6 separate regions of the Homo sapiens genome follow, and all the other regions are linked to region 3. Evidence: promoter capture Hi-C in 16 types of primary human blood cells and fetal thymus (Javierre and others, 2016). All regions are on one chromosome and are shown on one strand. Each heading gives the region's core, a stretch centred on a gene start or on the middle of the fragment in contact. The rest is flanking DNA. Distances are from core to core; before and after follow the strand shown.

Evidence for each region. Contacts are between HindIII fragments. The CHiCAGO score rates a contact against its expected background, and 5 or more counts as called.
Region 1: a fragment that was not itself captured here is called in contact with the fragment with the promoter of FRRS1 in region 3 in 1 of 17 cell types (erythroblasts); the score reaches 8.4 in erythroblasts.
Region 2: a fragment that was not itself captured here is called in contact with the fragment with the promoter of FRRS1 in region 3 in 1 of 17 cell types (erythroblasts); the score reaches 6.2 in erythroblasts.
Region 4: a contact is called between a fragment that was not itself captured here and the fragment with the promoter of FRRS1 in region 3, in 1 of 17 cell types (erythroblasts). The highest score is 5.6, in erythroblasts.
Region 5: a contact is called between a fragment that was not itself captured here and the fragment with the promoter of FRRS1 in region 3, in 2 of 17 cell types (erythroblasts and total B cells). The highest score is 5.5, in erythroblasts.
Region 6: the fragment with the promoter of GPR88 here is called in contact with the fragment with the promoter of FRRS1 in region 3 in 1 of 17 cell types (M1 macrophages); the score reaches 5.9 in M1 macrophages.

Annotation. Positions count from the first base shown.
Region 1 is chr1:100,443,479-100,448,296 of GRCh38, forward strand. All of the region lies in intron 7 of CDC14A (cell division cycle 14A), which reads left to right. Among named protein-coding and RNA genes, the nearest start is that of GPR88, 92 kb to the right of the region's middle. The HindIII fragment of the contact is 3,370 bases long and covers 1,810-4,818 here.
Region 2 is chr1:100,416,598-100,421,101 of GRCh38, forward strand. The region is part of intron 4 of CDC14A (cell division cycle 14A); the gene reads left to right. It overlaps LOC105379827 (a long non-coding RNA gene), which reads right to left. Exons shown (of 3, transcript XR_007066254.1): 2 at 1-1,993. Among named protein-coding and RNA genes, the nearest start is that of CDC14A, 66 kb to the left of the region's middle. The HindIII fragment of the contact is 2,942 bases long and covers 1,349-4,290 here.
Region 3 is chr1:99,764,851-99,770,004 of GRCh38, forward strand. FRRS1 (ferric chelate reductase 1) reads right to left here and starts at 1,785. Exons shown (of 17, transcript NM_001361041.2): 1 at 1,757-1,785. The HindIII fragment of the contact is 6,315 bases long and covers 1,532-5,154 here.
Region 4 is chr1:100,511,509-100,516,363 of GRCh38, forward strand. All of the region lies in intron 15 of CDC14A (cell division cycle 14A), which reads left to right. Among named protein-coding and RNA genes, the nearest start is that of GPR88, 24 kb to the right of the region's middle. The HindIII fragment of the contact is 1,643 bases long and covers 739-2,381 here.
Region 5 is chr1:100,469,970-100,475,037 of GRCh38, forward strand. All of the region lies in intron 10 of CDC14A (cell division cycle 14A), which reads left to right. Among named protein-coding and RNA genes, the nearest start is that of GPR88, 66 kb to the right of the region's middle. The HindIII fragment of the contact is 878 bases long and covers 1,916-2,793 here.
Region 6 is chr1:100,535,387-100,540,160 of GRCh38, forward strand. GPR88 (G protein-coupled receptor 88) reads left to right here and starts at 2,753. Exons shown (of 2, transcript NM_022049.3): 1 at 2,753-3,116; 2 at 3,508-4,774. The coding sequence starts at 3,581. The coding sequence ends at 4,735. RefSeq lists enhancers at 3,177-4,026, 3,475-3,874, 4,027-4,774 and a silencer at 4,145-4,314. The HindIII fragment of the contact is 8,214 bases long and covers 1-4,774 here.

The DNA.
Region 1 (4,818 bases), core at 2,245-4,744, 680 kb after region 3:
GTGCATGCCACCATGTCTGGCTAATTTTTTTTTTTTTTTAAAGACAGGATTTCACCATGTTGCCCAGGCTGGTCTTGAACTCCTGAGCTCAAGTGATCCTCTTGCCTCGGCCTCCCAAAGTGCTGGGATTACAGGCATGAGCCACCATGCCAAGCCCCCTTATAATATTTTTGGTTGTATAAATTTTATTTTGAAATATGGCTGAATTTACTTAGTTCTAAAAGTTCACTGAATTTTTTTTTCCCCATGGCATCATTACAAGACTTTTGATTAATGTCTTGACTGCTCAAAATGCAGGCAAAGGCTATCTCCAAGCTGGTTTGCGCTGTAAGGAGATGTTGAAGCAGAGTAGGATAAGGAGGAGTCTAGAAGTCATTAACTTTTTCTGAAAGATGAGAAGCCTGTACAATGTGAGTAGGTTCAACATTCTCGGAAGGTGAACTCATCCGTTGGGTTTCCCCAGAGGAGTAATACAATTTATCTCTATCCTTAGTAAGATAAGGACAGCCCTCACATTTGGGGCCCTAGTCTAGAATAGGGCTGTTTGGATATTCTGTTTCCATGTTAAATGCAACATATCTGAAAAGAAACTGATCATCTTTTACCCAAACATGGTCCTCTGCTTTGTGTGTGTTACCACATTGCCATCCTACTGAGCACCCAGCCTCAAGGCTAGAAACATTGCTGTTTTCCTCCCTAACCTAGTGAGTATTCGGATCACTTCTACTGGTGCCACAGGATGTATTAATTATATCTGTCTTTCCTCTCTGTTCTCACTTCCTTCCCTCTGACTCAGGTCTCACGTCTTTTCCTGTGGACCTTTCATTTTAATAGTTCTCTAACTGAGCACGGCCCTTCTCCTCCCAGGCTGCCTTACACACACCTGAGTGATCCTAAAATAGAGTTCTCATCTTGCTTGTCTTGTTCTTGGCCCCAAACCGGCTGTTTCTCCCATTGCCCTGCTGAAATGTGGATAAACTCTCCTGTCCTGGCATTCTTAGCTGTGATGAGCTCCAGCCTACCCTTCTAGCCCCATCTCCTGTTACTTCACTGTACGTACTCTGTGTTCCAGCTCCTCAAACTGCTTAGTTACTGTTTCTTGAATATCCCTGTTGCTTGGCTGAGGTTGCTTTTTCCCAGATTCCCATCCTTTTAACCTCCCGCTCCTCCATTTCGTTTGTGTTAAAATCCTGCACAGATTACATCTCACCTCTGGAGTACTCTTCTTCCCTGCCTTCAATTTCATGTGTTACAATTTGTACTTTCCATTTTTCTTATATCATGGCTATTTGTGTACAAGCCTAATTTTCCTTATTAGGTTGCAAATTCCCTGTGGATGGAATTATGACCAAATAGAAAAACATATACTTTGTTCTTGGATAGAAAGACTTAACATCATAAAGCTGCTACTTTTCCCAAAATTAATACATTTAATGCAATTTATGAAAAAAACCCAAAGAGAGTTTTTTTTAATACCATAAAAGCATTTTAGTAGTGACAAAGTAAGATTCCCCTCTAAAATCCCCAAGTTAGAAACAAAGGGAATATGTACTTATAAGAAAGAAGGTCAGATAACTTGTAGTACATCTGAATCACTGAATGTTATGCAGTCATTTTAAAAAATGAATTGAGCTATACCACTTATCTTGGAATGATTTCTATAATGTTTGTTGAAGAGAAAGGATATGGAAGAGTGCTTTAATAAAATCCATCTTTGTAATAAAACAAACAATAGTAAGACACTCCCTAGCCCACACATCTAGGTGTCTACATTATATGACCAGAGGTGACTTACTTTGAAGCTAATGAAGCTTAAATTTTAGAGAGCCTCACCCCCTCAACTTGTATGGGCACCTTTTACAGTCCTATACCCAATTTTGTGTTAATAATTTTTTACTCTAAGATGGACCCTCAAATTAGGTGAGTTTCAGACCCCACCAAAACCTGGATCTCTGCCCCATGTATATGAACATGAAGAATGCAAATGGCCCATTGTATTAATTATTAAATATACAGCCAAACACTAAAGCCATTTCAATTAAAGGAGAGATGGAGGCAGGAGGGGGTTGGAAGCGGTGAGAGAGAAGAAGGAACAATTCAAGGAGAAAACTTGTGGATGTTTTATTTATTCCTTCCTTCCTTCCTCTCTGTCTAACTTTAATGGTGATGCTGAGGGTTAGTTGAAAAAAATCTTGAAAAACCTGAAGCAGACAGTGCAATTTTATTCTTGGAAACCAACCAGCCAAACAAACAAAAATCTGACAAGAAGGTAGTCATGGTTTCACCTTGACAACAACCATCTAGGTGATGGGAGGGGAGCAGTCAGTTTTGGTGAAGACTTGATGTTGTCAAACAACTTCTTTTTTTTGAGAATGATTTATCTGTTCTATTATAAAGCCTATAAAATAGAAAACCACTATTGTGATTGGCAGGTGGTAGGTATTTCTTAATTTTTAGTTTCTTAATTTCTTAAATGTTTAAGGAATAAATGAATAAAGGAACTCTTTTCTGACAATCTGTGGGCCCAGTCATTTCCTGTCAGATTTCTCTTGCTGTTTGCCCTGTTCTAGTGAGTATGATATTTGGTGAACTTGTGGAATAGCTGAATTCATACATTTTATTAGCTCCAGTAAAGTCAGTATTCCAGTGAAGGCAGTGTAGTTTTCAAAGCAAAATTTTATTGTTGACAGCAATTTGTGAGACTGTAAGCCTTAGATGATTAGGGGATGTTCAAGATGCAACTTTTCTTTGCTAAAGTACATTTAGTAAATGATATGGCTCAGAAAAACAAAAAACAAAAAAACCCCAAAAAAGCCTAAAACAATAAGACTGTATCTCTATGTGAGATTAAAGGGGAATCTTATAGAAAGAGTGCTACTTATAAATGCTTCTAGTGATGAGGTCAACAGAATGTGGGAAATGCTTTGTTGTGTAAAGTCTACAGATAAACCTCTGCCCATCCTGCAAAAGGTTATATGCATCTTCCTCCTGCAATTCCAGGGTCTAAAGCAGTGCTGTCCAATAGAAATGTGAAAGTCATATCATGAAATTAGTTTTAACAATACATTTTACTTGTTGTAAATATGTTGTTTACATATTTAGTAATATACCTAAAATAGCATTTAACATGTAAGCAATACAAAAATTATTAATGATGTATGTATTTTGCATTTTTTTTTGAATTAAGCCTCAGAAACCCAGTGTGTAGTTTATTTATTTTATTTATTGTGTTTTTTTGAGAGAGGGTCTCGCTCTGTCACCCAGGCTGGAGTGCAGTGGTGCAACCTAGGCTCACTGTAGCCTTGACCCTCTGGGCTCAAGCCATCCTCCCACCTCAGCCTCCAGAGTAGCTGGGACCACAGGTGTGTGCCACCTTGCCCTGCTAATTTTTGTATTTTTTTGTAGAGATGGGGTTTCGCCATGTTGCCCAGGTTGGTCTCAAACTCCTGGACTCAAGCAATCCGCCCACCTTGTCTTTCCAAAGTCCTGGGATTGCAAGTGTGAGCCACTACGCCTGGCCTCCAGTGTGCAGTTTATACTATAGCATATCTTAATTTAGACTAGCCATATTTCAAGTGCATAGTAGCCACATGTAGCTAGAGTATGGATTCTGTAAGGACAGGCTAGCCAATGTACTGTCATAGTCCATCAGTGTGACATGAAGCCTAGGTTATATCTCCTTGCTTCATGTGATCTGTGGTTCACATGAGAGTTAATTTCAAAGCCCTGTTCTATTTAGAAAGCTCGAGGTGAGATACCTCAGGCTCTTGCTTTATTTTCATGTGACTTAAAAATGGCCCATTGTATTAAGTATTGATAAACAACACCAGGTGTTGGCTTCCGTCTTGGAAAAGTATCTTCCAAAATGTGGTCTTTCCAGGTCCTTTAGCAAGCTGTTGTGGAACTGTACAGTTCCTTACATTTGCCCCGATCAGACATGAAATTTGGGCAGCTATGCTGGGAAGGTCCACAAAAGTAACTGTGAGATGGTGGTCCAAAACCTTCCTCTAGGAATCAGTGTCAAAACATTTGTACTTCTCCAACAGCTTCTTAAGGTATTCTCAAAGAATATGTACCTTGAGAACCTTGAGAACTTTTACTCCTTTGAAATCTAGCCATTTCAAATCTAGTTCAGAAAAATGAAAGTTGACCTTTTGTCCTAGGGAAAAATAATGAAGATGATAGAGCTTGAACATTCAATTAAATTAGGTAGCTGTAGGTATGTGAGGAACTATGCTCTTCAGTAGTAAAGTTAGTGGTGAATGCTAGTGTAGGCTGATACTCTGCTTGTAAGACCTGGAAGTGGCACCCATATACAGAGTCTACCTTCAGTCAGCTTTCTTCTGTTTTTTTGGGGGGTAGCTGTCCTTACCAAACAAGATGTTGCCCAAACACCAGTGATCATTCATGATGCTACTGTTAAGCAGTTATTATTTATCAGAGAGAATTTGAAGTTATGTCTCTAGTTTGTTATTTTGCTTGTCCCCAAGGGCTTTCCGCTATTTACCAAAAGGCTTGCCATGGTTTGATGATGGAAGTGTGATGCGGTAGCAGTGTCCTGTTCTTAGTTGGGTTTGGGGGAAGAAATGCAGAGAAATGGTGCTTCAGTGGCAACATCGGAGGTTCCTCATCACTGTGGCTTACATTTATTACCCCATTCAAAATTCAGCCCATGCAATTTCAAGGAGTCTCCTTAAATATCTATTTGGGGATTAGGTGGAGATAAAAGTTGAAAAATGACTTCAAAACTGAGAAAGTACTTTGACTTTTTTTCTTTGAGCTATTTTCTAGCTGCCATTATCTGCCCCCTGCCATAAC
Region 2 (4,504 bases), core at 1,570-4,069, 650 kb after region 3:
ACATAGACGGGCTTTAGGGTGAAGGTGTGAGAAATAATAACAGTGTGGGTCCAGATTCACCCAGAGACAGATGGTGGAAAGGAAAAAAAACATTTTGGGACCAAAGTTTATCTCCTTTTTGTTGTCCCTTGCTGTAGAAGAGCTATGTGCTAGATATAATTTTGAGCACTTTACATACATTATTAATTCATTTATTCTTCCCGACAAACAACCTTATGTGATAGTTACAATTATTATCCTCAGTTTATACCTAAGGCAATGGAAGCATAGAGGGTTAGTTTCATGCCACTAATGGGGAAAGAACCTGTGTCTATGTCATGCTTCCCCTCGTATAAAACGCCCACTATTTGTGCAATCGTCCATCATTTTTTGAGTGTGTGCTACATGCCAGGCATAGTGTTGAGTCCTGCAGATAAAAAAGAGATGGAAACCTTGCTGTCATTAGTCTTACAGCCTACTTGGGGAGACAGGCTCAATCAAATAACCACAGAAACAAACTGGTATACGAATTTGAAGGAGAAGGCAGAGAGCTTTGAGAACATAAGGCAGGGGCCTGATCTTATTGGGTTGCCAAAAAGACTGTCTCACTTTAGAGCTGTGATCCCAAGGAAACGGAGGAGGTGGCATCTAAACACTGCGATGATGCAAGGTAGGCTCAGGTTGAGTCTGGTCACTTCATAGGCCATTCCCAGCCCCCTTTAGAGTCCTTGAAGTCAGTGTCTTTAAGCTCCATAATGGAGATTTCAGACTATCTCTGTGCCCTCGTATATGTGCAGGTTCCTGTGCAAATTGTAAGCGTTAAGTAAATATATATGCTGATTGAATTACAGTCATCTGTGGTGATTTGTGCTCTGTTCCACCTCCTGCTGGCTGCGTTGTATCCCATGTTGGAAGTGGCTGAGTGTGGCTTCAGAATAGACACAGAGGAAGTGGGAGAGTGAATATTTGGATGAGGGAGTATGCCTTGACTAAATACTTTCTATAAGCAAATACAAATCATATGACCTAGAGCTTTTATTTTTTAAAATCAGTCTATTGCTTTCTCTTGAAGCACATCATTGGTGAATTGACTCTATTTGGCTTGATGCTTTCATACAACTGGGCTGAGAAAGTTCATTTTACCCCTCTTTTGGGCATTCCCACTATAGTTGTAGTGATATAGTCTTTTAAAATCTCATTCACCAATTATTAATTAAGCTGAATTAACCCTTTTGGGTAGATGCATTCTTATCCTTATATGTTTAAAGTAGCTGTTCATTAAACATAGGTTTTTTGCTGAGCATCTATCTGACAGGAGGCATCTGAAGGTTTATAAAGGTATGGGAAGCTTGGTTACTTGAGCTCCAGAAGCTTTCCACTTTAGTCTAAAGGAAACTAATTACAAAAGAGCTGTGAGGGGCCCATCAGGATGTGCTTATGAGTTTCTATGAGGGAGCCAGACTGACTGTGTGACCTTGAGCAACTAATTCTCAGTGCTTTTCCTGTAAAATGAAAATGGGAATAATAATGGAACCTAACTCGGGGTGATGTGAGGATTAATGAACCAAGTTATGTACAATGCCTAGAAGAGTGCCTGGCACATGGTATATACTGTTAACTTTTTGTTTTTATTGTTGTCATTATTGTGATCATTATCACCTATAGTTGAGTGTCATATTCTGGAGTCTAAAGGGTAAGGGAAAAGGTTCTGAGTTGGAGAAGAAAGGCATCATGGGACATAGTATTTGAGTTTAGGTCTAATGAAATATAGGTCTAATAGGTAGAAATGGTGAGGAAAGTATTCCAGAAAAACAACAACAACCTCAAATACCAGAGATATCAGGTATGTTTAGGGAAGGGTGAGGAGTCCAGGCTAGCGGGTAGGGTTCATTTGAGGAAAAATGACAAATTTACCTGAAAAGGCAGGCTGGGACGATATCTTGGTGAAGGGTTGGCAGTCTGGACTGGGCTTTTTGAGCAGGGTTGAGACTTTCCGAGCCCTGCTCTGGAACTACTGGAGTAGGCAGGAGGTGGAGGCAGAGAGAAATGGTGTTAGTCCTAGAGTACGGTGATAAGGGTTTGGATAAGGGTTTGAAATAACGTGATGATGATTGTCATGGAAGAAAGGTCCAGGTAGTTCACTGCGGAACTAATGAAATTTAAGACTCAGGGCCTTTTCTTGCTTAGTTCCGTCTCTCAAGCTGTTGAAGGGAAAATTTTTTGTAAAATATGAAAAGATGTTTGTATCCTCCGTCTTTGCTCCCCAAATGATGTGTTTCAGGCTCCCAAACCTGGATCTACCCCATAATTGAAAGAGACTGTGGATGGCCAGGAGTGGTAGCTCACGCCTGTAATCCCAGCACTTTGGGAGGCTGAGGCGGGTGGATCACTTGAAGCCAGGAGTTTGAGACCAGCCTGGCCAACATGGTGAAGGCCTGTCTCTACGAAAAATACAAAAAAGTAGCTGAATGTGGTGGTGTGTACCTGTAGTCCTAGCTACTTGGGAGGCTGAGGTGGGAGGATGGCTTGAGCCTTGGGGGTGGAGGTTGTAGTGAGCTGAGATTGTGCCACTGCACTCCAGCCTGTGTGACAGAGCCAGAACCTGTCTAAAATAAAATAAATAAAAAGAGAGAGACTGACTGTGACTGTGAAGAGATAATCAGTCTGGGTATTGACTTGATGTGGCTATCACGTGATGGAGAGGCCAAGGTCAAAGATGACTTTTGAGATTCTGGGTCTGGCTGACTGGGAGGAACCCCTCATGAGAAAGGGGGATGTTGGGAGCAGCCAGTTAGGGTGCGGTAGTTTCAAGCCAAGTGAGTGCTCTGCACTGGTTAGCTTCACCAGTAAAAGAAACATTTTCTTCTTATATCTGCCCACCCCCATCCTCAATTGCAGTTTTGCAAGCATGATAATTGTAAGTTACACAGTGCTAAGGAAAGGACTCAGCATTTCTGCTGATTAATGGGCTTCAGCCCAAAGCACACATCATAGTGATGTCTTTGTAATGTCCACAGTTAGTATTCTGTGTATTCTAAACCTAGTTGTCTGAAACTTGTAAATGGAGTCTCTCCTTTTTTGGCATAAGTCTTCCACATTTGGTAAATCATAGTGCTTTAAGACTATTTTAAAGTTGTAACATCAGTTTTCTGGAAATTGTATTTTGAAGGAATTTAATTGACTAAGACATGGTTGAAATGTTAATTTCAAAGCTATCGTGCCAATGTTCCAGTGGCAGCACCTACCTGGGAAAGGCTATTGTCAGCATTTGTTTCCTCTTTTTCACACAAGTAAAATATTAAACAAATAAAATTGAAGAATACTCTTTCAGATGGCCAAATTGAATCCTCAAGAGTATTTTCACTTTCCAAGTCACAAAATATAAATATAATTAATGTAGGGGCACAGATTTCACTTTTAAATATATATATATATACATATATATATACATATATACACACACACACACACACACACACACACACACATATATATATATATATATAGTGTGTATGTGTGTGTGTGTTATGCTTTGCTGAAAAGGTTTTTTTTTTTTTTTTTTTTTTTTTGGAGGAAAAATAGCACCTAAAAACAAAGCTAAAAACATAGTAAAGTTTGAGGCAAATGTCCCCAGAGAAAGATCATTAGCAAATTCATGACCCAGAGTCTGGTTGAGACTTCTCTATGAAGCCATTTATTGTTTTAAGAATCTCCCCTTGTGTATCAGAGAGGTTGAATTATCTGAGTAGAGAAATACAGTTGTAAATTCCAAAATGCTTCAGAAATTCACATATTATTTTGGAGCAGGTATTAAGGATTTAATGACTGCAGGATTTAGTTTAAAAAAATGATTTAGAAGTATTTGCAGATGAATTCTAAGAGGATTCTATATAACTTCTCATGTTGGTCTGGTGTTCCTCTATAAAATTAGTACAGACTTGATATTTGTTACATTGTTTCTCACGGTGTAGTAAACACAAATATTTAAAATTATAAGAGTTATGCATTTTAATATTCATTTATGTATAGACTCAGTGGCGGGTTTTCCCATTTATAGCAATGATATAAAACATTTTACATCAAATTGATTTAAGTCAAAAGTAAATGTGTGTTTAAAAAGAATGAATGGTAGTACATGGTGGTACCTACGGCAGAAGTTGGGAAAGTGCATGATTAACTAATGGGCAACATTGGCTTACTGGTAAACAATATAAATTGTGCTGGTTTGTAGTAGGGTAAATTTTATTACGCTGTTTAATAAAACCTCATAGCTGTTGATAATATATATGTTAAGATACTGGCTCTTTAAGAAGCTTTTATTAAAGAAACTAAAAGTTATTTAAGTTCTTGGTACCTGGAAGTTAATTAAACAGAAAAAAGTCACTTTAATTGGGTGACTCCTGCTCAGTTAAAAATAAAAGTATATGTTAAATGCTATATTATTAATATGGTTTCTAGGACTTCTTGGCAAAAGTAGGGCAATTTTATCAAAGTCGTGCATGTACCACCCACTAAAATGATGTGG
Region 3 (5,154 bases), core at 535-3,034:
CTTCCTTTCTTGGATTCTTGCCTAATTCCACCAACCTGAAATAACTGTTCACTCCATAAGCTTTAGTTTTTCCTAATAAATTTTATCATGTTTTTCTGCCACATTTGGTGACTTGTCTTTTGGTAAACCTCTGGATATCAGTAAAGGTGTCCTACACATTGATCTCCATTCATTCTGACTAGCAGACAACCTTCAAAACAGTACTCATACAGTGTGATTGTTATGTGAATTTTGAGAAAATCCAATATTAAAAAAGCTGACAGGTGTGAAACAGAGAGTACACTTCACCAAAAAAATCAACATACTGGCTAACTAAATGACGAACTAAAACTCACTTCTCCAACCTAACAAAACCATCTCTTAAAAGGTCTTTGTTTTCAATAAGCTGATAGATCAAATTAAGCCCCCAACTTCAGTTCTATCCCAGTATAATACTCAAATCTTACCACTTTTTTAAAAATACAGAAGTGGCTGGGCGCGGTGGCTCACGCCTGTAATCCCAGCACTTTGGGAGGCCGAGGCAGGCAGATGACCTGACGCTGGGAGTTCGAAACCAGACTGACCAACATGGAGAAACCCCGTTTCTACTAAAAATACAAAATTAGCCGGGTGTGGTGGTGCCTGCCTGTAATCCCAGCTACTCAGGAGGCTGAGGCAGGAGAATTGCTTGAACCCGGGAGGCAGAGGTTGCAGTGAGCCGAAATCCCGCCGTTGCACTCCAGCCTGGGCCACAAGAGCAACACTCCGTCTCGAAAATAATAAATAAATAGGCCAGACGCGGTGGCTCAAGCCTGTAATCCCAGCACTTTGGGAGGCGGAGGCGGGCATATCACGAGGTCAGGAGATAGAGACCATCCTTGCCAACACAGTGAAACCCCGTCTCTACTAAAAATACAAAAAATTAGCCGGGCGTGGTGGCGGGCGCCTGTAATCCCAGCAGTATACTCAGGAGGCTGAAGCAGAAGAATCGCTTGAACCCGGGAGGCGGAGCTTGCAGTGAGCCGAGATCGCGCCACTGCACTCCAGCCTGGCGGACAGAGCGAGACTCCGTCTCAAAAATAAATGAATAAATAAATAAATAAAAATAAAAAATAAAAATACAGAAGCAAATGAAAATATCTGAACTGAAAAGTTTAGCTATGTTAAGAAATATTCCTAATAACACATTTACAATTTGAAAAATCCCCTTTACCCTTTAGGGCAGTATGACAAGCACACACAAAAATAAGTGCAGTGATAACACCTTGCCACCCTGGAGTCTTTCTGAAATTTTAACGACACACCAGGGCTAGGGAGTGGGAGGGTAAGGGGACTAAAAGTTCTAGATAAAAAGCCACTTTAAAAACCAAATAAGGTTCTAAGTGACCCTGATATAGGTAACCATGCCACTAGCTTTAAATATAAAAAAAGAGTTCCTACAGTTTTAAATTTAAAATTAAAAACAAAAAAAAAACTCCTGCAAGAATAAAGTCAATGATTTTCAGGATCCCAAACACGTCTCTACTTATAACCACCCATATCTTGGAATTAAAGCTTGTTAGTCAAAGTCACAGGACATATTAACCTAACTCGTTAGTGAACACTCATTAGCTCAATTCAAGCTCCAGAACATAGTTTCGGAATACAGCACCCGTTCTGCCTGGCCGACTGCCCTGGTCAGCACAGGCACTCGCTCTCCAGTCTGTCGCTAAGCTGGATTTGATTTTTAACGCTTTACAAAGAGCTTTGACATTAAGGAAAAAGACGTGACACTTACCTTGAGAAGCGAAGGCAGCCTAACCAACTTCCGGTTTTGTTACAACTTGTATCACATTTCAGCAGCTGGGTGGAGCCAGTTAAGCCTTGAGCCAAAAGGGAACCTTTCCCAAACTAAGCTGCAGAACTTGATTTGCAAGACCAGTGCTAGTTTTAGGACTCCATTTCTGAAAACTTAGAATTCTGTTTTACACTAAGGAACAGTGTTTGCCAACTAGTACCTACTTCGCCACAAAAATTATAGTTTTTGTGTTTAATTGCAAAACTATTTGAAAATACCTGTTCTATAATAGTGCTAAGTAAAAGCAAATTAACTTTTAAAAAGTGGAAAAAGATCAGATTGCATAGAACCGAAACCTTTCTGCAGTGTGAATGATATAATGCAAAAGAAATCTTTTATTTTGCAAATTACCCCTGAAATTTAGGAGTTTTGTTTCTTTTTAAGCCTTTAATCTGTTTCACAAGACTCTTTTGCAAAAGAAAAATTTTAGGGCTAGGAAAAGACAATGTAATTGAATTTTTAACAATCTTTGTTTTTATTTTGTTTTTTGTTTTCCTGTTTTTTACTTTTTTTCTTCTCTTTAATGTAATTGAAAATATTAAACATTCCATTTCAGACCTTGAGTGACATTGTAATTGCCCAGTGGGTTCACCTTGCCCGCTGTCTAGACAGAGCCGATTTATCAAGACAGGGGAATCGCAATGGAGAAAGAGTAATTCACGCAGAGCTGGCTGTGCAGGAGACCGGAGTTTTTTGTTTTGTTTGTTTGTTTGTTTTGTTTTGTTTTGTTTTGAGACGGAGTCTCTGTCTGTGGCCCAGGCTGGAGTGCGGTGGCATGATCTCGGCTCACTGCAGCCTCCCCGTCCTAGGTTCAAGCGATTCTCCTGCCTCAGCCTCCCCAGTAGCTGGGACTACAGGCGCCCGCCACCACGCCCGGCTAATTTTTGTATTTTAGCAGAGACAGGGTTTCACCATGTTGGCCAGGCTAGTTTGGAACTCCTGACCTCAAGTGATTCCACCTGCCTCAGCCTCCCAAAGTGCTGAGATTACAGGCATAAGCCACCGCGCCCAGCCCGGAGTTCTATTATTACTCAACACAGTCTCCCCAGGATTCGGAGATCAGAATTTTTAAAGATAATTTGGCGGGTAGGGGCTTGGGAAGTGGGAGTGCTAATTGGTCAGATTGGAGATGGAATCATGGGGGGTCGACGTGAGGTTTTCTTGCTGTCTTCTGTTCCTGGGTGGGATGGCAGAACTGGGTGAGCCCAATTACCGGTCTGTGTGGCATCAGCTGATCCACCGAGTCCAGGCTCTGCAAAATATCTCAAGCACTGATCTTAGGTTTTACAATAGTGATGTTATCCCCAGGAGCAATTTGGGGAGGTTCAGACTCTTGGAGCCAGAGGCTGCATGACCCCTAAACCATAATTTCTAATCTTGTAGCTAATTTGTTGGTCCTGCAAAGGCAGACTGGTCCCCAGGCAAGAAGGGGGTCTATTCAGGAAAGGGCTACTACCAATTTTGTTTCAGAGTCAAAACATGAACTGGATTCCTTCCCAAAGTTAGTTTGGCATATGCCCAGGAATGAACAAGGACAGCTTAAAGATTAGAAGCAAGACAGAGCCAGTTAGGTCTGTTCTCATTCACTGCCATAATTTCCTCAGTTATAAAAGGCTTTGCAAAAAGCCTTTTTGCAAAGGCGCTTTCAACATATGCAGACTGGAAAATAGATTATGACCCATGCCTTGACCTGTGAATGCTGGTTATCAATCAACCCCAGTAAATTCTTTAAACCATTTTTAAAGAGAGAACAGAGAAAGGAACACCATCACGTTACGCTTTCTCTTAAAGAACTAGTCACAATTAACAAAAGCCCCTCTCTACAGGTTATTAAAGAGAGGCTTTAAATAAAGATGACCCAGAGTTGGTTTGCTATCCTAAAGCTGCTGGGAACATGAATAGTTTTAAACTAAGTCAGCTGATCTTCAGTTCTTCAAAGCCTCAAGTGGTGAAATAGCCTTCTGCAGATAACAGACCCTTTCCAGGAACTGTCCCCATTGCATGCCAAAAGTATGATATGTCTATAAAACAAAAACTCTTCGACTATATTATCAGAACCCTACATTCTAAAGCACTCTTAGGAAGTGGTACGACACAGTGGGAAGAACTGAATGGAGAGAGAGGCTAGCTTTGTCTAAAACAACCCTTTCACTAGGCTCAGTGGCTCACATCTGTAATCCCAACACTTTGGGAGGCCGAGGGGGGTGGATCACGATATCAGGAGTTCAAGACCAGCCTGGCCAAGATGATGAAACCCTGTCTCTACTAAAAACACAAAAATTCGCCAGATGTGGTGGCACACGCCTGTAATCCCAGCTACTCAGGAGGCTGAGGCAGGAGAATGCTTGAACCTGGGTGGCAGAGGTTGCAGTGAGCAGAGATCACACCACTGCACTCCAACCTGGCCAATAGAGCAAGACTCCATCTCAATAAATAATAAATAAATAAAACACCACCCCTTCTGAGACTATCATTTCTCTCCATGTCCCCAGCTATAATTCCACCTTATCATTCCCTTCCAGATCACCTCTACCAGACTCTTCATCAACTCATCAGTTGTCACAAAGGAGACCAATTTTATTAAAATTAGTTTAATGGAGCTTAGATCCTAAGAAGTTAAAGCTACCCTACTGGTTACCATTCTCATGCCTCTATATCAGCAGTTCTCAAACTTTTTTTATTTCAAGGTCCCTTCACAACTTTGAAAGATTATTATGTACATCAGAGATGCTTCTTTATGTGGGTGATATCTATTAATATTTTTGTATTAAAAATTAACAGAAAAAGTTAAATATTCATAAATTTGTTTTTAAGTGACAATAATAGTTACATGTTAACACAGTATCTTTTCTGTTGCTTATATTATTGTTTTTCAACAATAAAAAATTTAATGAAAAAGTATAGCATTTGACTAGTCTAAAAAAAAGAAAAAGTATCATTGTTTAAATTGTTGCAAATCTCTTTAATGTCTGGCTTAATAGAAGACAGTAGGATTCTCATATCTGCTTGCATTCAATCTTTTGTGATATCATGTAACACCTCATGTAGCCACTGGAAAACTCCACTGTATATTCATGAGAAAATGAGAATGAAGAAGGCAAATAAAGTATAGCAAGAACAATAATTATCATTTATTGAACACTCATTTTAACCAAGGCACATGTATTATCCTATCCATTATGAACATCCTTCAGCTGAGAATGTTAAGGACCTGTGTGGCTAAGTAAATTGCTGAAGATTAGACAGAGAAGTGGTAGACAGGATCCTAAGCCAGAACCACTGTCTCCACTGAGCACCACCGCCAAGTCTGAATGAGGTCTGATGAACCAAACTTAGGA
Region 4 (4,855 bases), core at 310-2,809, 750 kb after region 3:
ATTGGACCTACACTCCCAGCTTCCTCTGGGTGTTACCTGGGATAGAGAGAATACAGGTTCCTTCCATTGCCAGCTCCTCTTTGGTTTCCTAGCCGAATAATCTCATCTTTATTCATCCAGTCATCCAAGCTAGACATTTGGAGTCAGCTTTGACACTACTTCTGCCTGCCTTTCCCTTGTCACACCAGTCACTAAGTCCTATCAAGTCTCCCTCTAAAATGCCTCTGTCCTTCCATTCTTACCACTGCTGCCTTAATTGGGGTCTTCATGAACTATCGCATAGCCCTTTCTGTCTTCCTGTCTCTTACCTTTAATCTTTCCTCTATACTGTTGCCAGTGTTAAATTTCTGAGACACAGAGCTAATCAAATCCTTCTCATGTTTGGCTTTGTTCAGTGGCTGCACTCTGCCTACTGGGTCAAGTCTGGCTCCCCTGGCTTGGCATTCAGGGTTCTTCCCTGTCGGGCTGTGTGCCTCCCTGCCAGCCTCCTCTCCAGCAGCTCTACCTGGCACGACCTGCCTTAAGCCTGAACCCTAGCACTTGCAGTCCACTCTGCTTTCCCTTGTTTCTCTGCTTGATTTTGTATTTCTTGACCTGGCTCGATAGTTATCTTTTTGATAAGCATTTGTGACCCATCTAAACAGAATGGCTCTTCCTTTCTCGACTCTCCTAGGAGCGCTGACACTCTCATATTATAGTCAGTTATACATGATTCTCTCTCTCCTCTGCTTTCCTTTAAGCTTCTCAGAAACATCTCTTGTTTCCTGAGGTTCCACAGTACAGTATAAGTGCCTAATAAATACTTATTGAACTAAAAGTCAGATAATGTATCTGGGTTCGTGAATGTTAAAGTGTTTAGGAGCCTGGGTCTCATTGTTAGCATATGAAGCACTAACAGAAAACAAACAAGTTTCCAGCTTTAGCTTTAATATACGGTAATCTGGGAGTTGTGTATTTTTTTTCTAGAAATGTGGCTTTACTAAAATAAGAGAAAATAAATTTTAACTGAGTTTGCATCAATATAATTTTGGTGTTCAGATGAACTGAAAACACTCATGTAATGGTTGGCTGAGTCAAGCTGGGTGTCAACAATCTGTCATCTAACAATTGAGCTCTTTGTGATTGTTGAAAAGCATATATTAAATTTCTCCAGAAAAAAGAATCTATTAAAAATCATGTAGGAAGGTGAAAGACTATTTTATATAGCATTATAATGAGCCCAAATTGGCTTTTTAAGTCTTGAAGTCCCTGAAATGCACAGAGAACACTATGGAAAAATGCACACACACCTTTCGAACCTGATTTTAACACAAACCTTCATCCTTTTATCTTAATATGATGCCAATAAAACCATACCCAGCTACATTTCATCTAGTGTTATTGGAGGAAATATGTATCATATTAACAGAGGCAAATTCTTTCAGTATTGTACATGTTGGGTACAATATACACTACTTGGGTGACAGGTGCACTAAAGTCACAGACTTCACCACTATACAATTCATCCATGTAGCCAAAAACCACTTGTACCTCAAAACCTATTGAAATAAAAAATAAAAAATACTTTCAGTATTGTGAAACCACAGTTATGGAAATAAGTATCAATGCACACATTTTATGTGTTAATTTGTGAGCAATACAAAAACTGGAAACTCTATTACAAAGGCTTAAAGAGACATAGGAGTACAGAGGCAGTTATGGGTGTATTTATTTTTCCCCAGTGTTGTATTTGTTCATTAAAACTTAAAACACTATAGTTATGTATATAAAATACCATGTTGCCAAGCATGTATTTTTTCCTTTAATTTCAATCACATTAAAACAAACCATTTTTATTTTAGGTTCTTTTTGCCTCTGTGGTTAGAACTTAAACCAGGGATAACTAGTACACTATTGTTTATTCCTTAAAGGACTGGGGAAAATGTAGGAAAGAAAATGTCAGTGTGGCAAAAAAGTCCATGAACATTTTGAATCAGGATTTTGACCTTAGTAGGATGCTAACATTCCAGGCCATTGGATCCTTTGGTTCAAGTTATTTGAACATTAAGACATCGTTACATTCATTTGCTGTCAAGGACCTTAATCTTTCATTATTCTTTATAATTTGCTGTTTTTGATAGCTAACATGTTTTATTTATTAACCATCTGTACAATATTTATATCTGTAATTATTAGACATGTTCCTGCCATGATTAGGTAACTGGGCTGTTTAAAAAAGAAACACCTCCAGAATAGCTAAAATTTTAAAGTTACTACCTACATCTGCCAAAACAGATTAGTAGCAGATTTCCAGAACAGAACAAATTGTCTTGATCTCCTTACCTAACACTTTGTTTTATGTCAAATCTTACTGCTTTCAGGGAACAAGACTTCTTGATGGAAGCTTATATTTTGACATAAAAATTTTGGGGGCTGCAAATGTAAGGCAATTTTATCCTTATTTTTCAGGTTGAATATTGCTACATTATTAATTTTATGGTATTCATACAATAAGAATACCACATATTCATAATAAACTTGATCTGGTCCTAACTCACTATAACTCTGTTGAGCTTACTAATTAAATGAGCTTGAATATTATATTTGAGAAATTAAAATCTCTTGGTTATATAAACAAGGGCTAACTTCTAAAATAATATTTGTACTTCAGGTATAAAAATTATTTTCACTTTCTTTATAACCATCTTCACTGTCATTGTTATAATTTATTTTGTATTTCAGATTCATTAATTCATTATTGTAACAACTAAAAACATTGGCCAATCAGAATTAAAACTTTAATCAACTCATAATACTTAAGCATGGATGTTCTTATAATGAAAATTTCTTTTAAATTTAGAATATTCCTGAAAATTCTTTGAATTCAGGCCTGATGAAAATCATTCAAAAATGTATTTATCTTTTAATGCAACAAATATTTTTTAATAATTTTTTTTATTCACTCAGAATCATATCTTGCCTAAGGTCATTATTTGTCTATGTTAGGGTGATAGAGAATGTTGGATTGAATATGTAGTGATCACAAGGCAAATGCTCGCTGTCTTGAGACATTAAACTATGGTAGCTAAGGGTTTGAGCTTTAGAGTCAGACTGCTAGGGTTCAAATTCCAGCTCCACCAATTCTTAATTACATGAATTGGGGCTAATTACTGCTTTGTGCCTCAGTTTCCTCATCTGTAAAGTGGGTTGTCTGAAACATTTAATGCGTGAATATGTATAAGATGTTTAGAACTGTCCTTAGCATATAGGAAGTACTCAAATATCTAGTTCAGAATAATTGATGTGTCAAGTAATATATCTAATTTGTTAAGAAGTTCAGCTAGTTGTATTTAATCTATTTTTGAATACGAAAATCAATAGCAATAATATTGTTCATGGAATTCAAAATGCAAATGCAATTTTACTATAAAATGTAATTTTACTATAAAAATTAAAAATGCCAGTAACTGGCTATAGTCTTTTCTGGGATATTAGTAATTTTACAATACATGGACATTTGGAAAACATTGTATATAGTTGGTAGTCCTACCTGTGACTACAAAAAAAGCATGAAGTTATGCTTTGTTACGATGTGTATTAGGTCCCACCAGGCACTCATCTGGCTTATCTATCTAACCTGTCTAAGATTTGAAATGGAGAGTACTTGTGTTTTTCCTTGAGGTTTCCTCAACTGTGGCTGAGTACAAATGACCCAGAGAGACCGTCAGCACAACCCCGTAGGATAACCATGTGATACCTGAAGTTTAAATATTCCTGTCATCCAACACTGTTGCTCCCTGAATAGAAAGGTCTCACAGTGTTAGTTATGCTTTTGTTAAGTGAATAGATCTTGGAGACTTGAACAATTCTCTTCTCCCCTTAGTGCATTTCTTTCTTTCTTTTTTTTTTTTTTTGAGACGGAGTTTTGCTGTGTCACCCAGGCTGGAGTGCAATGGAGTGATCTGAGCTCGCTGCAGTTTCCGCCTCCCGGGTTCAAGTGATTCTCCTGCCTCAACCTCCCGAGTAGCTGGGATTACAGGAATGTGCCACCATGCCCTGCTAATCTTTTGTAGTTTTAGTGGTGATGGAGTTTCGCCATGTTGGCCAGGCTGGCCTTGAACTCCTAACCTCAGATGATCCACCCGCCTCGGCCTCCCAAAGTGCTGGGATTACAGGTGTGAGCCACTGTGGCCCCCTTAGTGCATCTGTATTAAGATTTTTATTTTAGATTGAAAATGAAAGGAAGTTAATTTGTTACAAAATACTGATGTCAGAATAATTTGCTGAACCCTTTTTACTGATCTTTCATTTCACTTTCCTTTATACCATATAAAGAAACCATGGAACATGTTTTGTTTTGAGGACTTTGGTATTGTATTTTTATCCTCTAGTGCTTAATAGATACAACTTATGTTCAGTAATTATTTGTTGAATGAATTGAACTGGTGGGACAGAAGGTCAATTCGTTGGCCAAATGGTGTCATCATTTGTTTGCAGAGGCCTGCAGGGCCAGTTAGGCAACATAAGAGAGCAAACTAGGGGGTTGGAAAAGGAAATAGTGGGGCTTGTGGTGAGCTGTATCTGAGCCTAGATTAAACACCAGCCAGAGTTTTTGAGCTCTGTGGAAGTAAAGGCTTTGGATAGAAGACTAATGAATATATTCTCCATATGAATAATAGAAATCTTTAAAATGTTCTAGACTATTTCTGTTTTCCAGTTCACTGGGTACTGTGATTCACTAAATAAATATGTAAATAAATGAATATATATATGTGTGTGTTTATATATATAAATATATGCACACACACATATTTGCCCCTCTATATTGATGTACATATGAAATACTTTACCCTATAAAAAAGTTGGTTTAACAAAG
Region 5 (5,068 bases), core at 1,105-3,604, 710 kb after region 3:
TCAAAACTCAAGAAAACAACTTAATATAAAATGAGTAAATGATTTGAACAGAAAGTCCTCCAAAATGATATACAGATGGTGAATATTCCTCATGATCATAAACACAGAGTTCTTAAAGAAACATTGCATATCAAATCCAGCTGTATAAAAAAGATAGTGCATCATGACCATCATGGCTCAATATTAGAAAATCAATATAATTCACCAAATTAACACAAAAAGTAGAAAAATTATATGATTATCCCAATAGATGTACAAAAATTTGACAAAGTTTAGTACCCATTTTTAATAGAAACTTTCAATAAACTAGAAATAGAAGGAAATTTCCTCATTCAGATAAAAATAATCTATGAAAACTCTATAGCTAAAATTATATTTAATGGTGATGCTTTTCCTGTAAGATCAGGAACAAAACAAGGGTGTCTACTCTCACTACTTCTAATATTATACTGGAAATCTTAACCAGTGCAATGAAAAAAAAAGAAAGAAAAAAAAACTTAGAACTAAAGAGTGAAATTAGTAAGATTGCAGGATACAAAGTCAGTTTTCAGAAATTTTAGCAAAATTTTAAAATTCTGCTAATTAAAAGACACACAGTATATATATCTGACAAAAGACTTGTACACATATATTAAAAAGTATAAATAAGCAATTTTAAAAATTAATTTTTGAATGGGCAAAAGCCTTGGCCAGATATCTCATAGAAGGTAATATATGTATATGAAAAGATGTCCAACATCATTAGCCATCAGGGAAATAGAAATTGAAACCACAATGAGATACTATTTTATGTCAACCAAAATGGCAAACAAAAAAGAAGTTTTACTACAAAATGCTGGCAAAGATATGGAGCAACTGGAACTCTCATGTGTTAACCAATTGGTGTATAATTGTTTGGCCATTTCTCATAACGTTAATCTATATTTAACTCTATGACCCAATGATTTCATTTCTAGGTATTTAAATAAGGGAAATGGAAACATTTGTCTACAAAGACTTGTACAAGAATATTCACAGTTGCTTTATTCATAGTAGCCCAAAATTAGAAATCATCCAAATGTCCGTCAACAATTTATGAGTGAATATATCATAATATGTTCATAAAATGAAATACTAGCCAGCAATAACAAAGAATGAATTACTGATATACTCAACATAGATGAATATCATATTATTGTAAGAGGAAAAAAAAAGCCAGACACAAAATAATACATGCTGTATAGATAAAGCCCAAGAACAAGCAAAACCATTCTGTGGTGATAGAAATCAGAAAGCAATTGCTTCTGAGGTGTGTCAGGGAAAACTGACCCCCCAAAAAAGCATGACAGAACTTTCTAGAGTGTTGGAAATGTTCTGTATCTTATCTTGGGTTGTGTTTACACAGGAGCACAATCAGTTGTAATTCCATATACTAGCCTTAAACAATTAGAAAATAAAACCTAAAAAATTATACCATTTACAATGTATCTGGTAACTTCAGGTTAGAGATGTGCAATATCTCTACACAGAAAACCGAAGAATTTTTTTTATTGAGAGAAATTAAAGAAGATATAAATAAGTGAAAAGATAAAGATTATCTTGAATAAGATCAAAGCTGGAGGATTTACACTCCCAGATATGGATTCATTTTAAAACTGCAGCAATTATGATATTGAGATATTGGTGTCAAGACAGACAAATTAACCAATAGAATAGAATATAAAGTGCAGAAACAAATTCAAAAATATACAGACACTTGATTTATGATAAAGGTGACATGTTAGAGCAACAGGAAAAGGTCTTTTTAGTAAATTCTGCTGGGTCAACTGGATATCTATATGGGGAAAAAGAAGAACCTTGGCTCCTATCTCACAACCTATTTTTTAAAGGAATTCCTGATGAGTTGTTGATTCAAATGTGACAGAAAAATCAGTGAAGCTTCTGGAAGATAACATAAAATAATGTATTCATACTTTGAAGTTAACAAAGATATCTTAAGTGGTACATGGAAAGCATTACCTATAACTGAGTTGAAATTGTAAAATTCTCTTCATCAAAGACACTATTAAGAGAGTGAAAATGAAAACCACAAGAGTAGGAGAATATTTACATCACATAATAATGGGCACTGTACTTGTACCCAGAATACTTACACTCCTACACATTAACAATAAAAAGACAATCTGATAAAAAATGTGTAAGAAACATGAAAAGACATTTCATAGAAGAGAATGTACAAATGGCCAATAAACATACGAAAAGCGATTCACCCTCATTAGCTATTTCTTATCTTTTGGTACAGCTATCTGTTGGAGATATACCTGTGAGTGGAACAGTTGGGTATGTGTGCATTCAGAGTTAGAATTATTAAACAGTTTTCCAAAGTAGATATGCCTGTTTATGTTCTCATCAGCAATGGTTTGTCAGTCTCTTAAATTTAAGCCATTAGATTTTTTAAGTGATAACTTGCTTTATAGTTTTAATTTGCTTTTTCTTGATGACTAAGGTCAATCTTTGTATATTCTAGATACTAGTCCTTTGTCTGGTAAATGTTTTTCAAGGTTTTTTTCAGTCTATAACTTGTCTTTTCATCCTCTTAATAGGGTCTTTTACAGAATAAAAGTTTTAAATTTTGATGAAATCCCTTTTATCACTTTTTTCTTTTTGATATTGTCTGAGACTCTTAGTTTAGCCCTAGACTCAATGATTTCTCATATTTTTTTTTCTAAAAAGTTTATAGTTTTACATTCACATTTAAGTCTGTGATGGATTTTGAGGTTTTTGTTTATTTCATAACGTGTGAGACTTAGGTCAAGCTTCTTTTTTTTTGGCCTATGCATGCCCAGTTGCTTCAGTACCATTTTCGTTGAAAATTCAGTTTCTCCACTGAATTTTTTCTATAGCAGCATCAAAAATCATTTGGATATATTTGTGTTGATCTATTTCTTTGTTCTCTATTCTGTTCCATTGACCTATGTGTCTCCTTCCTTCAATGCCACACTCTCTTGATTACTGGACCTATATAGTGAGCCTTAATATTGGAAGAGTGATTCCTTCCACTTTCTCCTTGTTTAACAAAATATTCTTAGCAATTCCACTTTCTTTTCCTTTTCATATACATTTTAGAGTAAGCCTGTCTAAATCTACAGATAATGTTTCTGGGATTTTAATAGGAAGTATGTTAATCCTCTATATCGATTTGGGGAGAATTGACATCTTTACTATTGTTGAGTCTTCTAATCCATAAACATGATATGTCTTTTCATTTATTTAGATCTTCTTTGATTTCTTTCATCAGCATTGTGTAGTTTTCTGGATGCAAGTCCTTTTTTGTTAAATTTACACCTAAGTACTTATTTTTTTTTAGCAATTATAAATGGTATTTATGTCCATATGTTCATTGCTGGTATGTAGAAATACAATTGATTTATCTTTTTCTTTCTTTCTTTTTTTTTGAGACGGTGTTTCACTCTTTTTGCCCAAGCTGGAGTCCAATGGCACGATCTTGGCTTACTGCAGCCTCTGCCTCCTGGGTTCAAGTGATTCTCCTGCCTCAGCCTCCCAAGTAGCTGGGATTACAGGCGTGTGCCACCACGCCCGGCTAATTTTTTGTATTTTTAGTAGAGATGGGGTTTTACCATGTTGGCCAGGCTGGTCTTGAACTCCTGACCTCAGGTTATCCTCCCACCTCGGCCTCCCAAAGTGCTGGGATTACAGGTGTGAGCCACCCTGCCTGGCCACAATTGATTTTTCTGTTTATTTTGTATCCCGAAACCTAGGAGTTTTATATGGGAGTGTGTGTGTGTGTATGTATGTGCAAATTCTTGGGGATTGCTTTTTCATCCACAAATAGGACAATTTTATTTTCTTTCTAATCTATATACCTTGTGTTTCCTTTTCTTCCCTTGTTGGACAGGCTAAAACTTCCAGCGCTGTGATGAGTAAGAGTGATAAGAGCAGACATCCTTGTCGTGCTCCCAGTCTTGGAAGGAAAGCATCCAGGCATTCACCTGGATTAAGTATGTTAATTGAGGTTTTCTATAGATGTTCTTTATCAGGTCGAGGCGGTTCCCCTCTATTTCTGTGTTTCTGAGGGTTCTTATCATGAATGAGTGTTGAATCTTGTCAAATACTTTTTTGGCATTGATTGATATGATCACATGATTTTCTTCTTAAGATTGTTAATATGGTAGATTGCATCGATTGTTTTTTGTATATTGAAGAAGGCTTATGTCCCTGGAATAAACACCATTTGGTCATGGTGTGTAATTCTTTTTATATATTGCTGAACTCTGTTAGTTAAAAATTTTTATGTCCATATTCATAAGTAACATTGGTTTGTAGTTTTCTTTTTTTTGTCTGTTTTGTCTGGGTTTTGTGTCAGGATAATACTAGTTTCATGAAATGAATTGGGAATTGTTCTTCTCTGTTTCCTGGAAGAGATTGTGAGAGCTGGTGTGAATTCTTAAAATGCTTGGTAGAATTCTCCAGTGAAATTATCTGGGCCTGGGGATTTCTTTTTAAAATTATGAATTCAATTTCCTTAATAGATATAAGGCTATTTGAATAATCCATTTCATATTGGGTGAATTATGGTAGTTTGTTTTTTGAGGAATTAGTCCGTTTCATCTAAATTGTCAAAATTATGTTTGTGGAGTGTGTTTTTTTTTTTTAAAGTATTCCTTTATGTTTGCAGAGCCTGTAGTGATTTTCTTGGCTTCATTTCTGATGTTAGTAATTTGTGTATTTTTTTTTCCCTTTGTCAGTCTCCCTAGAAGTTGGACAATTTTATTGATATTTTCAAAGAATCAGCTCTTTGTTTCATTAATTTTCTCCTTATATTTTTGTTTTTAATTTCATTGGTTCATGTTTTTATATTTATTATTTCCTTCTGCTTCCTTGTAGTTTTCAGTATTTTGGCAATGTGTCTAGGTGTGGATTTCATTGGAATTATCCTTTTTTGAGGTTTACTCAGCTTCTTGAATGTTTAGGTTTATGTCTTGTCAAATTTGGAAGGTTTTCAGCTATTATTTACTTAAGTGCTTTCTCAACCCTGTCCTCTTTTTCCTTTCCTTCTGGAACTCTGTTG
Region 6 (4,774 bases), core at 1,503-4,002, 770 kb after region 3:
AAGTGAGCTGTGTGTAGGCACCATGAGAAGGAGGTGAAGTTCCAGGGGAGTTTTATGAGGTTGTGGTGAAATCAGCATTTTTGTAAGTCTGAAGGGGAGCAAGCAGTGGAGAGCAGAGAGACTGACAAGAGACAGCAGAAAGCAGATGACTGATGGGGCAAGTTCCTGCTGAAGGTGGGAGGAAAGAGATGCTCATAAAAGTGAATTACTGTTTCACCGTGGAGAAAACATAAATGAAATCATTTACACTGCCATTCACTTATTAATTCAGTAAGTATTGATTAAGTTTCTACTATGTCCCAGGCACTGACCTGGTGCTGGAAATAAGATAGAAAAAATTCCCACCCTATATTATGTAAGTTCATTAACTTAAAACAAAAGGAAAACCAAATCCAGAAACAAACAAAAATTTGGCCCCTGTCAGGCCAGCGCTAAGGGAGGCATGGTCTTGGAGGAAGTGTGTGTGACTGCCAGGCACTGGAGTCCCTCAGCAGGAATGCTGCTCGTCTCAAAGGCAACACAAAGTGGCAGCTGGGACCAGGGATCCAGAATTTGAATACCCTCCCACCACATTCTATCAGAGAGTCCTTTAGGACTATGTTAATGTGAGAGAAAAAACTTTACTTCAATGGCAAGTTTTAACTATGAATGATTAGGAGAGTCTCCTTTCTCCTGAAACATTGCTCTTAGGGACAGAGTGGAAAAGACTCCTGGACATATGGGCCAGAACTACAATGCATGTTACAGAGAAGAGGTATACGCCATGTGTCATAACTAGAAAGGAGAAATGCAGGCTTGCTGTGCTTAATGCACTCAAAACCTCAATAAGGACAAATGGCAATAGGCAAAAAGATGATGACAAATACTCATCTCATTTACATCAGTAAACTTGATATCGAAACCTTCAACCCTCTGAATAGCAAGTCACTGGTTCTTTTCTTTCACTTCCCCCTCCGGCCCCTGCCCCTGCCCCAACCAATTTCATTCAGATATAGCTTAGCTGGACCAAATCTATCAAGTCATGCTTATCCTTAATCCTCATCAGAGTTCTTGAAGTCATCAACTAACCATATTGATTTTGAAATAGAAAAAGAAAAGCAGAGAAGCTGTGTTTTGACCTCTCTCCTGAAACATTGCTCTTAGGGACATATGACCCAGAACTACAACTGCAATGCATGTTAGATAGAAGAGGTATATGCCATGTGTCATAATTAGAGAGAAGAAATGCTAAATTCATGAATAGGGATTCACAGAAAGTTTTAACAGAAAGGGCCTTTGAAGTGACTGACTGTGAACTTATTTGACAAGATGAAAATAATCCATCGCAAGGCTACATGATGGATGCTCGGCTTAGTATCTGGGTGTGCTGCAACCCCACCTAACATTTTTTTCTATTATGCCATGTTACCATATTCCCATATTGAGTTACATTTTCAAATACATGACTTTTCCAGTGAATAATTGAGAGAACTCCTTTTCTGAAAAAATTCCCACATGGAATGGATAAATGAACACTTGCACCAAAGAAGATGCCAACATCAGACTGCAAATCTCCAAGACAGACAAGACAAAAAGTTCTGAAGTGAAAAGTCATCTTTGTTCACACTGTGGATTATTCAGGTTTCTTGCTTTCCCCCTGACACACATTTTTTTAAAATTGACTTTATTTTTTTAGAGCAATTTTAGATTCATGGCAAATTTGAGTGAAAGATACAGAGATTTCCCATGTACTCCCTGCCCCTCGCATACATAGCCTCTCCCATTATCAAAATCCCCCACCAGAGTGGTTCGTCTGTTACAATTGAATGTACGTTGACACATCATTCCCCAAAGTCCATGGCTTACACTGATGTTTCACATTCTGCCACTTTGGGCAAATTTATAAGTACACAGATCCACTATTATGGTATCATACAGAGTAGTTCCACTGTCCTAAGAATCTTCCGTGATCATCTATTCATTCCTCCTTTCCCCCTAACTCGGGCAACCACTGGTCTTTTTAACTGTCTCCATAGTTTTGCCTTCTCAAGAATGTCATAGTTGGTAGCATACAGTATGTAGTCCTTTCCAGTTGGCTTCTGTCACTTAGTGATACACACTTAAGGTTCCTTCATGTCTTTTCATGGCTGGACAGCTCATTTCTTTTTAGCACTGAATAATATTCCATTGTCTAGATGTACCACTGACATCTGCTTTAAATCTTTTGCCCATTTCATTTTTACCCTCTAACCATTTCATTACTAAAACACAAAACAAACTCCGGAAAGGAGTTTGTTGATGAGAAAACACTGAAAGTACGATTTAAATTGAGGAATGGAGATTTTCTGTGGATAATTGTCTATGTTCCACTTTACCAAAGAAAAATGAATTTCAAGTAGTGCATAAAGTAATTCTCGTTAAAAAATGTGGGAATAAAGAGATCAGTCCTGGGTACTGGGAATATATTTATCTCACAGAAAAATCTTGCCCACAAAATGCATCAGACTGAGATGAAATACTCTAGGGTATATTAAATTTTATTCTAATATTGAAGGGAGGGAAAAAAAGGACGGAAAGAAAAATGAAACAGGATGAAAAATAAGGTGATTGGGAGAGAGAAAAGACAGAGAAACTTGTTAACGACAGGACTTTCTGAGCAAGATATTTTTCTTCCTTTTACAAGTTGGAAGCTATTGAATAATTCATGCCAAGCGTGGAAAGGCTGTCTTTTCCCTGGATGATGTATAACTAAGCAGGAGAGAGCTTCGAGTGGGTTCACCACATCAGCCACCACTCCTGCTTCTGAGCACAGGGTGCTCTCCTCTTGAGCTCAGCTTCTGCTTTTGCAGCCAAGCATTCTTGCTGCTGCTGCCTGCCTGCCCACCCGCCTGGGCTTGCAGCCCGCCACTTTACTTTCTCCAGCCCTGATACCAGCTGAGAAGTCTCCCTGCAGCTGCTAGTTCCTGCCCAGGACCATGTGTGTGGATGCTGCTTGGGAGAAGCGGGCACTTGCTCCTGGCACTGATCCCAGCTGAGTTTCTCCTGTTGATTTCTGGACCACTGATGCTGTTGCTGAGGAGGTATTTCCCGGCATCCCTCCCCCTGAGACACCGGCTAAGGACCAGCCTAAACGCAAGGTAACCTTCACCTCTTTCCCATGGGATTTTCCCCAGCTGGGATATCTCTGCTTTCTCCTGGAACTAGGTCCTCCAGCTGGCAACATATCTCTCTCTCTCTCTCTCTCTCTCTCTCTCTCTCTCTCTCTGTGTGTGTGTGTGTGTGTTGGGGGAGAAGAGGAGACTGTTTTAGGTATTGCTCTGTCCTAGGGCTTCCCCGATACCTGCTGAATCCAATGCAAAGTGGCCTTTCCCCTGGCTCTGGAGACATTTCCGAGGCAGGCACCTGTCATCTGCCACCCCCGTCCTCCTCCTCGAGCTCCCTTTCTCCCCCTCCCCCAGCCCATTATTCTGCTTCAGCCTTTTGTGTCAGTGGCAGAGGGCTGAAGGGATGTCTTTGCCCTTCTGGCAGGCAGGACAGTGTCAGGATGGACCGCGCTGCCAGAAGCCGACGCTAGCGAGGGAGGTGTGAAGAGTTGGCCAGAATGACCAACTCCTCCTCCACATCCACCTCCTCCACCACCGGTGGCTCGCTGCTGCTGCTCTGCGAGGAAGAGGAGTCGTGGGCGGGCCGGCGCATCCCGGTGTCACTCCTGTATTCGGGCCTGGCCATCGGGGGCACGCTGGCCAACGGCATGGTCATCTATCTCGTGTCGTCCTTCCGAAAGCTGCAGACCACCAGCAACGCCTTCATCGTGAACGGCTGCGCCGCCGACCTCAGCGTCTGCGCCCTCTGGATGCCGCAGGAGGCGGTGCTCGGGCTCCTGCCCACCGGCTCTGCGGAGCCCCCCGCAGACTGGGACGGCGCTGGGGGCAGCTACCGCCTGCTACGGGGTGGGCTGCTGGGCCTCGGACTCACGGTGTCCCTCCTCTCCCACTGCCTCGTGGCCCTGAACCGCTACCTGCTCATCACCCGGGCGCCCGCCACCTACCAGGCGCTGTACCAGAGGCGCCACACGGCGGGCATGCTGGCGCTGTCCTGGGCGCTCGCCCTGGGCCTCGTGCTGCTGCTCCCGCCCTGGGCACCGCGGCCCGGCGCCGCGCCACCGCGAGTCCACTACCCGGCGCTGCTGGCCGCCGCGGCGCTGCTGGCGCAGACAGCTCTGCTGCTGCACTGCTACCTGGGCATCGTGCGCCGCGTGCGTGTCAGCGTCAAGCGGGTCAGCGTGCTCAACTTCCACCTGCTGCACCAGTTGCCCGGCTGCGCCGCCGCCGCCGCCGCCTTCCCGGGCGCCCAGCACGCGCCGGGCCCCGGTGGCGCCGCGCACCCGGCGCAGGCCCAGCCCCTGCCGCCCGCGCTGCACCCGCGGCGGGCACAGCGGCGTCTCAGCGGCCTGTCGGTGCTGCTGCTCTGCTGCGTCTTCCTGCTGGCCACGCAGCCACTGGTGTGGGTGAGCCTGGCCAGCGGCTTCTCGCTGCCGGTGCCCTGGGGAGTGCAGGCGGCCAGCTGGCTCCTGTGCTGCGCCCTGTCCGCGCTCAATCCGCTGCTCTACACGTGGAGGAACGAGGAGTTCCGCCGCTCCGTGCGCTCAGTCCTGCCGGGCGTCGGCGACGCGGCGGCCGCTGCCGTTGCCGCCACAGCCGTGCCCGCAGTGTCCCAGGCGCAACTGGGCACCCGCGCCGCGGGCCAGCACTGGTAACCTAGCCGGGGCCCGAGGGAAGCGGAGATCCCCGGCTTC